Linked DNA regions of Homo sapiens: region 1 is linked to region 2. Evidence: promoter capture Hi-C in 16 types of primary human blood cells and fetal thymus (Javierre and others, 2016). All regions are on one chromosome and are shown on one strand. The core of a region is centred on a gene start or on the middle of the fragment in contact, and the rest is flanking DNA. Distances in the headings are between cores, read along the strand shown.

Region 1 (2,785 bases), core at 279-2,778, 58 kb before region 2:
ATCTGAGGTCAGGAGTTCGAGACCAGCCTACCCAACATGGTGAAACCCTGTCTCTACTAAAAATACAAAAGTTAGCCAGGTGTGGTGGTGGGCGCTTGTAATCCCAGCTACTTGGGAGGTTAAGGCAGGAGAATTGCTTGCAGGAGGCGGAGGTTGCAGTGAGCCGAGATTGCGCCATTGCACTCCAGCCTGGGCGACAAAGCGAGACTCCAACTCAAAAAATAAATAAATAAAAATAAAAATAAATAAATAAATACGTGACATTAAAGTCCATATGTTTAATCATTTCATTAGGGTCTTTTCAGCCATGCCTTGAACTGAGTAGGACTGAATGCAGAATTCCTTAATATAGAAGACCCTTTCTACAGATATCCCTGGGGTGTTAGCACACATTACCTGGCTGCTCTCCAGAAGCAAACCTTAGCATTCGTCCCCTCCAGTTCTGGTTTCTTTGAAACATTTGACAAAGAGGAAGAGAGATGAGAAGTAAGAAGGCCATCATCCTGATGACAGGGTTTGTTTCGAGTTCTCAGAGTCAGCACCCGCTATCTCTGTGTGGAGCCTGCCATTGGGCTGCTATTTGGATTTTGCAGCCTTGAGGTTTCTGTGAGGATGCCAAGGTGGATGAGGAAAGGTCAGCAGACCCAGTGTGCATACTAGACTAATGAGAAAATGATGTGTGGAATTGAAGGGAGATGTTTGAGAATCTGTGGCAGAGCCCCTGGTTGTGTGGGGGTCCCTGAGAAGGTAGGCATGGGGCATGGAAAGGGAGGATAGGAAGTAGGCAGGATCTTGTTGAAGAGGGTGCTATTATAAGGCCCTTTAGGGGAAGGTTCATGTGTGGGACTCTCTGTGTTAGAAGCAGGTGTGAGATCATGTGTCAACATAGCTGTCACTTCCCTTCTTTCAGTCTCCTTTATTCTGTAAAATGATAGTGAAGCTTGATGCTCCCCTGGAGGGTGTGTGTTGGAGAAAGATGCGGATGGAGAAGGGAAGGTATCTTTGTCATTATAATTATTAGTACAGGTATAACACAGTAGCTTCACCACAAAATGTCATTCTTGCTTACACCTTCCAACAACAGTACATGCTTTTACAATATTTACTTTTTTTTTTTTTTTTCAGACAGTGTTGCTTTGTTGCCCAGGCTGGAGTGCAATGGCGTGATCTCGGCTCACTGCAACCTCTGCCTCCCGGGTTGAAGCATTTCTCCCACCTCAGCCTCTCGAATAGCTGGGATTACAGGTACACGCCACCATGCCTGGCTAATTTTTGTATTTTTAGTAGAGATGGGGTTTCAACATGTTGGCCAGGTTGGTCTTGAACTCCTGACCTCAAGTGATCTGCCCATCTTGGCCTCCTAAAGTGCTGAGATTACAGGCGTGAGCCCCCATGCCCTGCCTACAATGTTTACTTGATCTTCCTACTTGATCTTGTGAGGTAATAATGGTGGGCAGGAAATATTTACTTTAAAATTTTTAAATTTTATGTAAGTAATATGGTATTGTAGTTTTAAAATCGTAAGTATAAAATATATGCAGTGAAAAATCTACTTCTCTTCTGTCCTCTATCATCCATTTTCTTCTCCCCAATAGGTAACCTCTATTGTTCTTGTTTATCTTTTCAAACATTTTATTTATTTATGTATTTATTTATGTATGTATGTATTTTTGAGGTGGAGTCTTGCTCTGTCACCTAGGCTGGAGTACAGTGGCATGATCTCAGTTCACTGCAGCCTCTGCCTCCTGGGTTCAAGTGATTCTCCTGCCTCAGCTTCCCAAGTAGCTGAGAGTACAGGCGTGCACCACCACACCTGGCTAATTTTTTAATTTTTTTATTTTTAGTAGAGATGGGGTTTCACTATGTTGGCCGGGCTGGTCTCGAACTTCTGACCTCAAGTGATCCACCCACCTTGGCCTCCCAAAGTGCTGATATTACAGCCGTGAGCCACCGTGCCCGGTCCTTTTCAAGCATTTTAGTACCTAATCAAGTCAACACAAATCTATATATGTATTTTCCCCCTTCTTAAACAAATAGTAAAATCCCACATATACTCTTCTGCTCCCACTTTTTTCTTTTAAGACAAACTTGAGAGGTAATTCCACATCAGTACATAATAAGCTTCTGCTTTCTTTTTGACAGTGCATAGTGTTCCGTTGTATGGATGTACCATTATTTGTTTAATCAGCACACCAAAGGTGGACATTTAGGCGCTTCCGATATTTTTCTTTTGAAATCATGCTGCATCAAATTTCCTTGTGATTTTGCACCTGTACCAGTATATCTGTATCATCTCTGTTTCATAGTTGGGGCAGCTGGGGCTCGAGGTGATGAAATGACATGTCTAAGATCACAGACGGTCATCAAAGCAAGTTCTACAGCCCAGCCACCGTCAGAGTTTCTCTCCAGTACAGCATGGAGCCTGGATTTTAGTTCAGCAGCCCTTGTTGCGTGTTGCCATATGCCAGACCCTATCTAGGCCCTATCTAGAGCTTGATAGGGCCTCGTCCCTGCCCTGGGGCAGCTTACATTCCAGGGTAATTTGCACACGATGCAGTCAGTGCTATGATAAAGCTAGGCACAGAGGAAAGGCAGTTGACCCTGCCTGTGGTGTCAAGATGAGCTTCTGGGCCGGGAAATATTTAGGCCGGGTGTGGTGGCTCACGCTGTAATCCCAGCACTTTGGGAGGCAGAGGTGGGCGGATCATGAGGTCAGGAGATCGAGACCATCCTGGCTAACATGGTGAAACCCCGTCTGTACTAAAAAAAAGTACAAAAACAAAAA
Region 2 (2,700 bases), core at 99-2,598:
CAGGAAGGGGTGAAAAGCAGGCATTTCTGAAGCCCTTCTGGCCAGTGAGTGGAAGGAGTCTTGCTGCGATTTGAATTCATTCCATCCAGATTTACAGTTCCTCAATAAATTTCCTGTTCCTCCCAGCAAGGAGCTTTGTGTTAATCACTTAGCAAAAAGGAGGGAGGGGTGAAACTGCCAGAGGGACATGGAGGGAGGGCAGATCTACCCTCGCTGTTCCCCAGGGTGGATGACAGGCCCTCAGCATCCACATTAGCAGGCATCTGGAGAGAATGCCTAAGTGGCCCCCGCGTAGGGACAAATTCCTTATCTTGGAAATTTCACCTAACCTAGGATTTCTCTAGATCTTTTGAATATTTTTTCTCACCAAACACATTAAGGAGACCAGCAAGTGTCAGTCTACAAAACTACTAGCGGCCGAGGACAAGATAAACACCCCAAAGGAAGGAGCAGACAAGGAAAAACACACACACACACACACACACACACACACACTCTCACACACACACGAGATACATAATAACGAGGCACCGGGGCTGAGGCAGGAGCTTCCTCTTCCACCTTAGTGACAATGAGGGAGGAAAAACACGAATTTCCCCACTGCTCCAGGAAGCTGCCCTGGACTCTTAACTCCTAGGATGCGCTGTCAGATCGCGAGGCCTTTTACCCTGCCACAGAACTCCCTCCAACCATCACGACCCTGGGGTCCAAATCCCGTTGCAACGATAACCTGACAAGGAAACCCTCTCTTGACACTCCAGCTCTCCAATTTTCCCCATAAAAGTCCCTTTCCCAGGAGCCCTGGGGCGCCTCTGCACGCCTTTCGCATATTCACTGCAAGGACACTTCCATCCAAGTAGGGCCACTCGTCTCAACTCTGCAAACCACAGGACCCCTGCCCTTCCTCTGATCGCGACCACTCCCCGAAGAGTGAGGCATGCACAGTCTGGCGCTGCGGGTTTCCCGCAGCAGCTCCGGGTCCTGGCTTCCACAGCCCCCAGAACCTCCTTGCCATTCACCTCCCGGGCCGGGCTTCCCTTAACCGTGGCCTCAGGGCTGCGCGGGGCCACCGCATGAACGCTGCCCTGGGTCCCTGTCGCCCCTCAGACAGACACGGGATCCCACCCTCCCCCGCCCCCCGCACTGGGTGAGGCCCAGCTGGGTGGGTACGCGGCCTGGCGGCCGGCCCCGATTCCAGGGACGCCGTCCCCGCCAGGGTCCCGGATCCAACCCAGACACCCCGGCGGCCGAGGCGAGGCCGGGACTCACCTCTTCCCGGCACGGTCCGTCTTCGGTCCGGTCTCCTCCGCGGCGTCTCCGGCTCCTCCTCATCCACCCCAGCAGGAAGTGACCTCCTCGGCTGCTTTCGTCACTTCCATCCTCAGCAGAGAGGGCGGGGGAGGAGGAGGCGCCCTCCCGCCGGTTCCCAGCCTCACCTCGCCGCACCCAGCAGCGTCTCCCTTTCCTTTCTCCTTTCAGCAGACGCCGACTTCCGCCCGCACTCCTCCCCCTGCGCGCTCCTCCCGGCCCGCATCCCGCGCATCCGCCCCGGCACGGCCCGTGCGTCACGCTGCGGGGGCACGTTACGCACGCTCGTGGCGGGCGGCCGGCCCGGTCCGCTGCTGGGCCAGGGTCCTCCAGACGCCGAGGGGTGACGCGGCGCGAGGGGGTGCTGAGCTGCTATACGCTTCCCCCGCCAGTCCTGCGCCGTGAGGCAGAACGGACTTTGCGGGGCGAGGCGCTGCCCCGGGGTCCCACCTCCCGGGGGAGGGGACCTCGCAGACCCCACAGGAAGGCCCAGGCGCCGGGAAACAGTCTCTCCCACACAACAGAGAGGCGGCCCGTCTTTCTCCAGAAATGGGCCCTGCGACCTCCCAGAGTGGGGATCCCTCACAATGGGAAGACGGGACCCGCAGACTTCAGACGCAATTTCCCTACCCTTTAAGAAAGGGCCCTTTCATATACGTATGAAAGAAACCGCAAAGCTTTCTCTGAAGCACGTCGCTTTGGCATTTCCTCCCTGGGAAGACTGGGGGGCATGACCGCTTCCCCGCTAGTTCCCACCCCACTGCATTTAGTCTTAATTCGTCCCAGTCTAAGCAGCTTGCAAGTCCTCTCCCTAAGTCATTAAAACGCGTGTCCCCTTTTGGTTTTACCTTTTGTTCCTGCTCGGGCAATTTGTCTGTCCAAAGCATGATTTTTTCTTCCTTTAGAGGCTCATTAAGGATAAAGAATCTCAAGCAGTTCAGCTTTATCTGCAGTCCCACCCCTGTAAATCTGAGTGGTGTCCAGGCATAGTTTCACTCCAGAGGCAGAAGAAAGGGAGTAGTGAGGATCAGTAAAGGTTAAAGAATTTAGAATAAATACGAGCGTGGGGGAGGTGAAGAAGAGAGATGGGATTGAAGGAGAATTGAAGATCAATTTTGATCAAATGGATCAAAACTTTGTACCTCTGCTCTAGTAAGACCTTTGCACCGTCTCTGCCACATGGGACTTGGAGATATTAGTTGTTACAAAAATTGCTTCCAGTTTTGAATGTGCTACTAGTCACTGTGTAGCTCTTGATAAATTAATTAGTAAATTGGCTCCCTCTGGCCTAAAATTACCTTACCTGTTTTTTAAAAAAGATAACATTGTTGTGTCTTTTCTAGTTAGAACTTCCTACTCTGTAGGTGAACAAAATAAGGAGCAGAACTTAAA

What was found. The method cuts DNA at HindIII sites, captures the fragments that hold promoters and counts their contacts. A CHiCAGO score of 5 or more calls a contact.
Region 1: a fragment that was not itself captured here is called in contact with the fragment with the promoter of ETV3 in region 2 in 4 of 17 cell types (naive CD8 T cells, total CD4 T cells, activated CD4 T cells and 1 more); the score reaches 6.2 in naive CD8 T cells.

The regions. Positions count from the first base shown.
Region 1 is chr1:157,078,398-157,081,182 of GRCh38, forward strand. No RefSeq gene overlaps it. Among named protein-coding and RNA genes, the nearest start is that of ETV3L, 20 kb to the right of the region's middle. The HindIII fragment of the contact is 1,181 bases long and covers 939-2,119 here.
Region 2 is chr1:157,137,047-157,139,746 of GRCh38, forward strand. It overlaps ETV3 (ETS variant transcription factor 3), which reads right to left and starts at 1,349. Exons shown (of 5, transcript NM_001145312.3): 1 at 1,270-1,349. RefSeq lists silencers at 1,087-1,276, 1,121-1,456, 1,507-1,876 and an enhancer at 1,808-2,413. The HindIII fragment of the contact is 2,762 bases long and covers 1-1,983 here.